2 separate regions of the Homo sapiens genome follow, and region 2 is linked to region 1. The links are contacts of gene promoters, found by promoter capture Hi-C in human tissues and cell types (Jung and others, 2019). All regions are on one chromosome and are shown on one strand. Each heading gives the region's core, a stretch centred on a gene start or on the middle of the fragment in contact. The rest is flanking DNA. Distances are from core to core; before and after follow the strand shown.

What was found. Contacts are between HindIII fragments. The study calls those that stand out against the background at their distance.
Region 2: the fragment with the promoter of FAM151B here is called in contact with a fragment that was not itself captured in region 1 in 1 of the 25 tissues and cell types used here (liver).

What each region holds. Positions count from the first base shown.
Region 1 is chr5:80,266,062-80,269,267 of GRCh38, reverse strand. No RefSeq gene overlaps it. Among named protein-coding and RNA genes, the nearest start is that of SERINC5, 12 kb to the right of the region's middle. The HindIII fragment of the contact is 8,436 bases long and covers 1-3,206 here.
Region 2 is chr5:80,486,826-80,490,176 of GRCh38, reverse strand. It overlaps FAM151B (family with sequence similarity 151 member B), which reads right to left and starts at 2,077. Exons shown (of 6, transcript NM_205548.3): 1 at 2,029-2,077. The coding sequence starts at 2,053. FAM151B-DT (FAM151B divergent transcript) reads left to right here and starts at 2,231. Exons shown (of 3, transcript NR_172938.1): 1 at 2,231-2,399. RefSeq lists a silencer at 1,513-1,807 and enhancers at 1,472-1,971, 1,972-2,473. The HindIII fragment of the contact is 21,804 bases long and covers 1-3,351 here.

The sequences.
Region 1 (3,206 bases), core at 159-2,658:
GCCTTTCTAACCTTCATAGAACAATGTAAACATCTTCCAAGTGAAACCCGCAATGAAGGCCTTTTGTTGATTTTCATGGAACTATATGGTTGCACAGGCAGTTAGCTGGCGGTGGTTATTTTAAAACCAAGCACCTCCAAAGAGAGTTTACTTCAAAGTATGCATCTTATAAAGTGAATTTAAAAGAAACTGACAGGAGTCCTCTCTTTAAATACACGTTAAAAAGATAAGTCAACACACAGTGCTGTTATTTGAAGAAATGGGCTTACCTCTTGTACTTCCTCTCAGGAAATTAATTAGAATGGATTAACCAAGAAAACTGAAAAGAGAGACTTGTCTCGCCTTTGTGTGTTTTTTTCTTTCCCCTCTCAGCCTCAAACATAGCTGAATGTGTTTACTTGAAATCAGGATGTGGAAAGTTTTTTGAATTGATTTTAAAACCAAAGAAGCCAGAATAATTTTCCATGGTATTCAGAATCACAGGAATGAGCTCTGTTCAGAAATGGTTTTTGGGTTTTTTTTGAGACGGAGTCTCGCTCTGTCGCCCAGGCTGGAGTGCAGTGGCGTGAACTCGGCTCACTGCAACCTCCGCCTCCTGGGTTCACGCCATTCTCCTGCCTCAGCCTCCCGAGTAGCTGGGACTACAGGCACCCGCCACCACGCCCGGCTAATTTTTTGTATTTTTTGGTAGAGACGGGGTTTCACCGTATTAGCTAGGGCGGTCTCGATTTCCTGACCTCGTGATCCGCCCGCCTCGGCCTCCCAAAGTGCTGGGATTACAGGCATGAGCCACTGCGCCCGGCCCAGAAATGTTTTTTAAATTTTATAATAAAGTTGAATAGTGACTATAATAATTTACACAAATATTTATTTCTAAGTGAAGAAAATGGAGACTTTAAAAAAAATTCAAAGATTATTATGTATTTTACTTAAGGAGGCAAAGCCTCTCTAAATAGTTTTCATATATATGAAAAATATATAATATATATTATATATTTTGAGACAGGGTATCTCTCTGTCACCCAGATTGAAGGGTAGTGGCATGATCCTAGCTCACTGCCGCCTCCTGTGAGTTCAAGCCTCCTGTGAGCTCAAGCGATATTCCTGCCTCAGCCTCCTGCATAGCTGAGACTACAGGCATGCACCACCACACTCTAATTTTTAAATTTTTTTGTAGAGACAGACAAGGTCTCACTATGTTGCCCAGGCTGGTCTGGAACTCCTGAGCTCAAGCCATCATCCTACCTCGGCCTCCCAAAGTGCTGGGATACACGCGTGAGCCACTGTGCCGAGTCCAGTTGCCTTCACACAAAGGATTATAACTCAAAATCTGAGTGTACCTGATTCAACTTACAAAAATATATCAAGAGTAGTCTCCTAATCTAAGAGGACTTAAAAAATTAATTTGTGGCCGGGCGTGGTGGCTCACGCCTGTAATCCCAGCACTTTGGGAGGCCGAGGCGGGCGGATCACAAGGTCAGGAAATCGAGACCATCCTGGTTAACACGGTGAAACCCCGTCTCTATTAAAAATACAAAAAATTAGCCGGGCGCTGTCGTGGGCGTCTGTAGTCCCAGCTACTCGGGAGGTTGAGGCAGGAGACTGGCGTGAACCCAGGAGGCAGAGCTTGCAGTGAGCCGAGATCGCACCACTGCACTCTGGCCTGGGCGAAAGGGCGAGACTGTGTCACAAAAAAAAAAAAAAAAAATTAATTTGTTCCCAGAAAGATTGAACGGGGCTGCAAAACCTGTTGAGCAACTCTCTACTGTCTTCATTAATTTGGAATTTGGGTTCCCTGGGGTGTGTAAAGGAGATTTTCCTTTGTACTATCTACACTCAAAGAACTTGCCATGCAAATTATTAATGTGAAAGGCATTAAGGGGAGAATCTTTAAGATACTAAGGCAAAACTGTTTTTTTTGTTTTTTTTTTTTGAGACAGTCTCACTCTGTCGCCCAGGCTGGAGTGCAGTGTCACGATCTTGGCTCACTGCAACCTCCGCCTTCCGGGTTCAAGCGATTCTCCTGCCTCAGCCTCCCAAGCAGCTGGGACTACAGGCGCCCGCCACCATGCCTGGCTAATTTTTGTTTTGTATTTTTAGTAGAGACGGGGTTTCACTATGTTGGCCAGGCTGGTCTCGAACTCCTGATCTCATGATCCGCTAAGCACCATTACAGTGCTTTTAAAGCACCATTTTTAAAACTTTAAAAGCACCATTTAAAACTTTTAAAGCACCATTACAGTGCTGAAGAATCATTAGCTTTCCACACTTACAAACTAACTGATGAGAAGTACAAAAGGATTTCTCTTGTTTCCTTAAGCAGCTCCCCTAAAAATCGTGACCAGGCAATACTTTGCTAGCCTATTATAGTCATTACTAAGAATTAGTAGTTACATTAAATTTTCTTTTTGCCTTTGGATAAACAGTTAAATAGTAAACCATTTTAAGGAGCTACTCCTGTCAAAAGCAGGTGGGAGGCTGCAGGAGGCACCAGTGATCTTGGGTGAGCTGGAGGGGTAGAGCCAAGCCAGAGAGGGATCTGGAGCATGGAGCACCAAGCTTTGTTTTGTAGAAGTTTTAGGACAAAGAAAAGGAGAAAGACGGTAGCTGGGCCAAAGAGAGGTTTGTTGTTTAATTTATGAAAAATCTGACCCAGTTTGTAGCTTGAGAATGATTCAATAGAAAGGAAGACCTGAAAATGCTTGGAAGAGAGGAAATAGGCGAGGTGATGGAATTAAAGGTAGATTGAAGGCAAAATTAAGAGATTAATGTTAACAAGAAAAATGAACAATTTTTAATCCTAGCACTTTGGGAGGCTGAGGCGGGTGGATCACCTGAGGTTGGGAGTTCAAGACCAGCCTGACCAACATGGATAAACCCCGTCTCTACTAAAATTACGAAATTAGCCGGGCGTGATGGTGCATGCCTGTAATCCCAGCTACTCGGGAGGCTGAGGTGGGAGAATCTCTCGAACCCGGGAGGTGGAGGTTGCAGTGAGCCAAGATCGCCCCATTGCACTCCAGCCTGGGCAACAAGAGCGAAACTCTATCTCAAAAAAAAAAGAAAAGAAAAGAAAAGAAAAATGAACAATTTTTATTTTAAGTTGGGCAGCTCAAGGAAAGTCAATACAGGGTTAAAAGCAGAGGTTCTGGAGTCCACAAACTGCTGATATGATGCTTCACCAAAATGAGGGAGTAAAGCAAGAA
Region 2 (3,351 bases), core at 828-3,327, 220 kb before region 1:
GGCTCAAGCGATCCTCCTGCCTTTCAAAGTGTTCAGATTACAGGCGTAAACCACCACGCCCGGCCAGGACGGAACTTTTCACTATACATCCTATTGTGCCTTTTGAACTTTTTTATGTTGAGAATGTGTGTGTGTGTGTGTGTGTGTGTGTGTGTGTAAGGGGGAAAAATGACATATAACGGAAGAATCTGGTTAAGAATTAGTTTTATCAATAACTCGGTAATGAGAAGAAATTTTTGTTTTTGTTTTTGTTTTGAGACAGTTTCTCTCTGTTGCTCAGGCTGGAGTGCAGTGGCGCAATCTTGGCTCACCGCAAGCTCCGCCTCCCGGGTTCACGCCATTCTGCTGCCTCAGCCTCCTTAGTAGTTGAGACTACAGGCGCCGCCACCACGCCCGGCTAATTATTTTGGATTTTTAGTAGAGACGAGGTTTCACTGTGTTAGCCAGGATGGTCTTGATCTCCTGACCTCGTGATCCGCCCACCTCGGCCTCCCAAAGTGCTGGGATTACGGGCGTGAGTCACCGCGCCCGGCCCAAAAATTTGTTTTTTAAAAAATGGCATTTGTCAGCAATTGGACATTTTTCACTTGTGCACACATTTTATTCCAAGATTTTGTAAACCTTGCATCGATTCAGAAGAGAATCTGGATTTATACAGCCTGTGAGTGAGAATGGTGTAAGTCTTGAGTGTGAGCTTTGTCCCAGATTTGTTTGGATTCTTAGGAAAACTAGGCATTAAAAGGATTTATACTGAGAAGAGCACAAGGGTTAAAAAAGGAAAACTCTGGTCTGAAAAAATGTTCTACGGAGGTTTAGCACAGATCTTAAAAAAGAGAGAGAGAAAAAAGTTCACATCCTTTGATCCAGTAATTTCAGTTACAAGAATCGTGTCCAGGATAAAAACAAACCAAAAACATAACTGAGGAAGAACAATGCAAAAATGTTCATTACAGAATGAATTCTAACAAAACAAAACAAAACAGGAAACGACTGATTAACGTTCAACATTAGGAGACTGGTTAATTACAATATAATTGTATACAATATAATTGTATAAAACACTTCAGTCATTCAAAATTATGTTTATAAAAACCTTGGTGACATGGGATAGTATAAGATGCAGGATTTTAAAAATTATGTTTACCATGACCTTAACTCTATTTTTAAGAGTCAGGGTTGTTAGAAAATACCAAAAAGTTAGTAGTGGTGCCTGTGGGTATCAGCATTTGGGGGATTTTTTTTTCCTATTTCCCTATACTAATATACTTTATAAATGTTCTATAATGGCATTTATCAGGACCTGGACATTTTTCGCTTACACACACATTTTATTCCAAGATTCTGTAAACTGTGCATCGATTCAGAAGAGAACCTGTATTTATACAGCCTGCTAGTCAGAATGGTGAAAGCGTGTATTATTTTTACAATTAGGGAAAAAAATCTAAACTGAAGAAAGAACGCGTCACTGACGTTGTCTCATGCCACTACTTAAGTTTACAGAAAAGATACTGTAACCTTCAAGAGCGGAACTGCTGTCCCGCGAGTTGAAGCACCTGATTCCAAGGGGAATCAAGCGAGCCGCACACTCTGCCAGCTTTCCAGGCAGCGCGCTCAGCAGCGGGACTATGCCGGGCCCGGCCCAGTCCGCATTCCCAAACCTCCCCCAGCTTTCAAAGAGGAACCTACTGACCCAGACCGCCCCCATACGGTCGGCTGAAATTAAGGATTAGGGAAACGTCACATTCCTTTCTTTCCAACCCAGACCTCAAAAGACACTGACCCTGCCATTCTCGACCTCCCCTAACGCCTGTCCCTTAGAGCCCACCCGGCAAACCAAGGTCCTTGCCAGGCGATCGCGGGCGCGCCCCGAGTGCAGAGCGGGCTCCAAGCCCAGCCGCCCGGTTCTGCGCGGCGCGCTCCCAGGTCCCTAGCAAGGAAGACCGCGGGAGCCCGCAAAGGGAGGGTACGGCCGGCGGAGCCTCTCAAAGCGCCCCACCTCCAGGCAGAGGCCGCGCGCTCGGCGCTTACCTGGGCCTCCAGCGGATGCTGCCATGGTGACGACGCCCGCCGTCCGCGCAGGCGCCCAGGCTGGCGCCCCTGCTAACCGGGCACTGGTGGCAGGGAAATTCGACTCCACAAACCACAGGCCTCGGCGGGGGAAGAGCCCGGCGGGCGCCAGCGAAGCGGAACCAAACGGAGCCGCGGCACGCAGGCGCAAAGGCTGGCGTTCGAGGTTCGTTTACGCGCCGCTTCGCCGTGCAGGTGGTGGCGAAGCGCTCCTCCGAAAGGTTTCGGAAGCTGGTGGTAGCTCTGAAGATAACGCTGCGTTAGGGCATACTGCGGCGGAGGATGGAACTCCGATTGAAAGCAGTTGCTGGAGTGGAGCACGAATTTCAACAGTTGGGTATATTTTCTTTTAAATGTTAGTAATATCCTAAAAGGGTGTGGAATCATTACTGATAAAAATCAGTGTTTCTGGCCGGGCACGGTGGCTCAGGCCTGTACTCCCAGCACTTTGGGAGGTCGAGGTGGGCGGATCACTTGAGGTCAGGAATTCGAGACCATCCTGGCCAACATGGTTAAAACCCGTCCTTACTGAAAATTTAAAAAATTATCCTGGCGTGGTGGCGCGCGCCTGTAATCCCAGCTACTCGGGAGGCTGAGGCACAAGAATGGCTTGAACCGGAGAGGTGGAGGTTGCAGAGAGCCGAGATCGCTCCACTGCGCTCCGGTCTGTGCGATAGAGCTAGACTGTCAAATAAATAAATAAATAAATAAATAAGTTTTTGTACAAAGTTACCGAGCTGATAACTTGAAGTTTTCTCTCCCCTTCTGTCTCTCTACCAGTGTTCACTCAGAAAACGCTCTCAGCAACTGGGTCCTCCCATCCACTGTCTTTCTAGCCCTCCTTAACTCATTACTTTTTGAAGCCAAACTAGTGATCAGAATTAACAACAAAGCTCTGCCATTTTCAGCTTCTGTGACCAAAAAACTCAATCTGCCAGTGGTAGAGTTAGGATAACTAACATCACCTGACACGTAATACAAAGGGGAGTTATTCTTGCCCAGCCTTTCAGATAAAATATTTTTCATCACTCCAAAGCAATCACTCTCCATTTACCCCCTTCCTACCCCCAGGCAACAACTCATCTACTTTCTGTCTCATGAATTTGCCTATTCTGGAATTTCATGTAAATAGAATCACAGACTGTATGTATGATCTTTGTAACTGGCTTCTTTCACTTAGCATGTTTTCAAAATTCACCCATGTTTTAGCATGTATCAGTACTTCCTTCCTTCTTATGCTGGAATAAATTCCAGTTTGTAAATACCACATTTTATGTGTGTCCA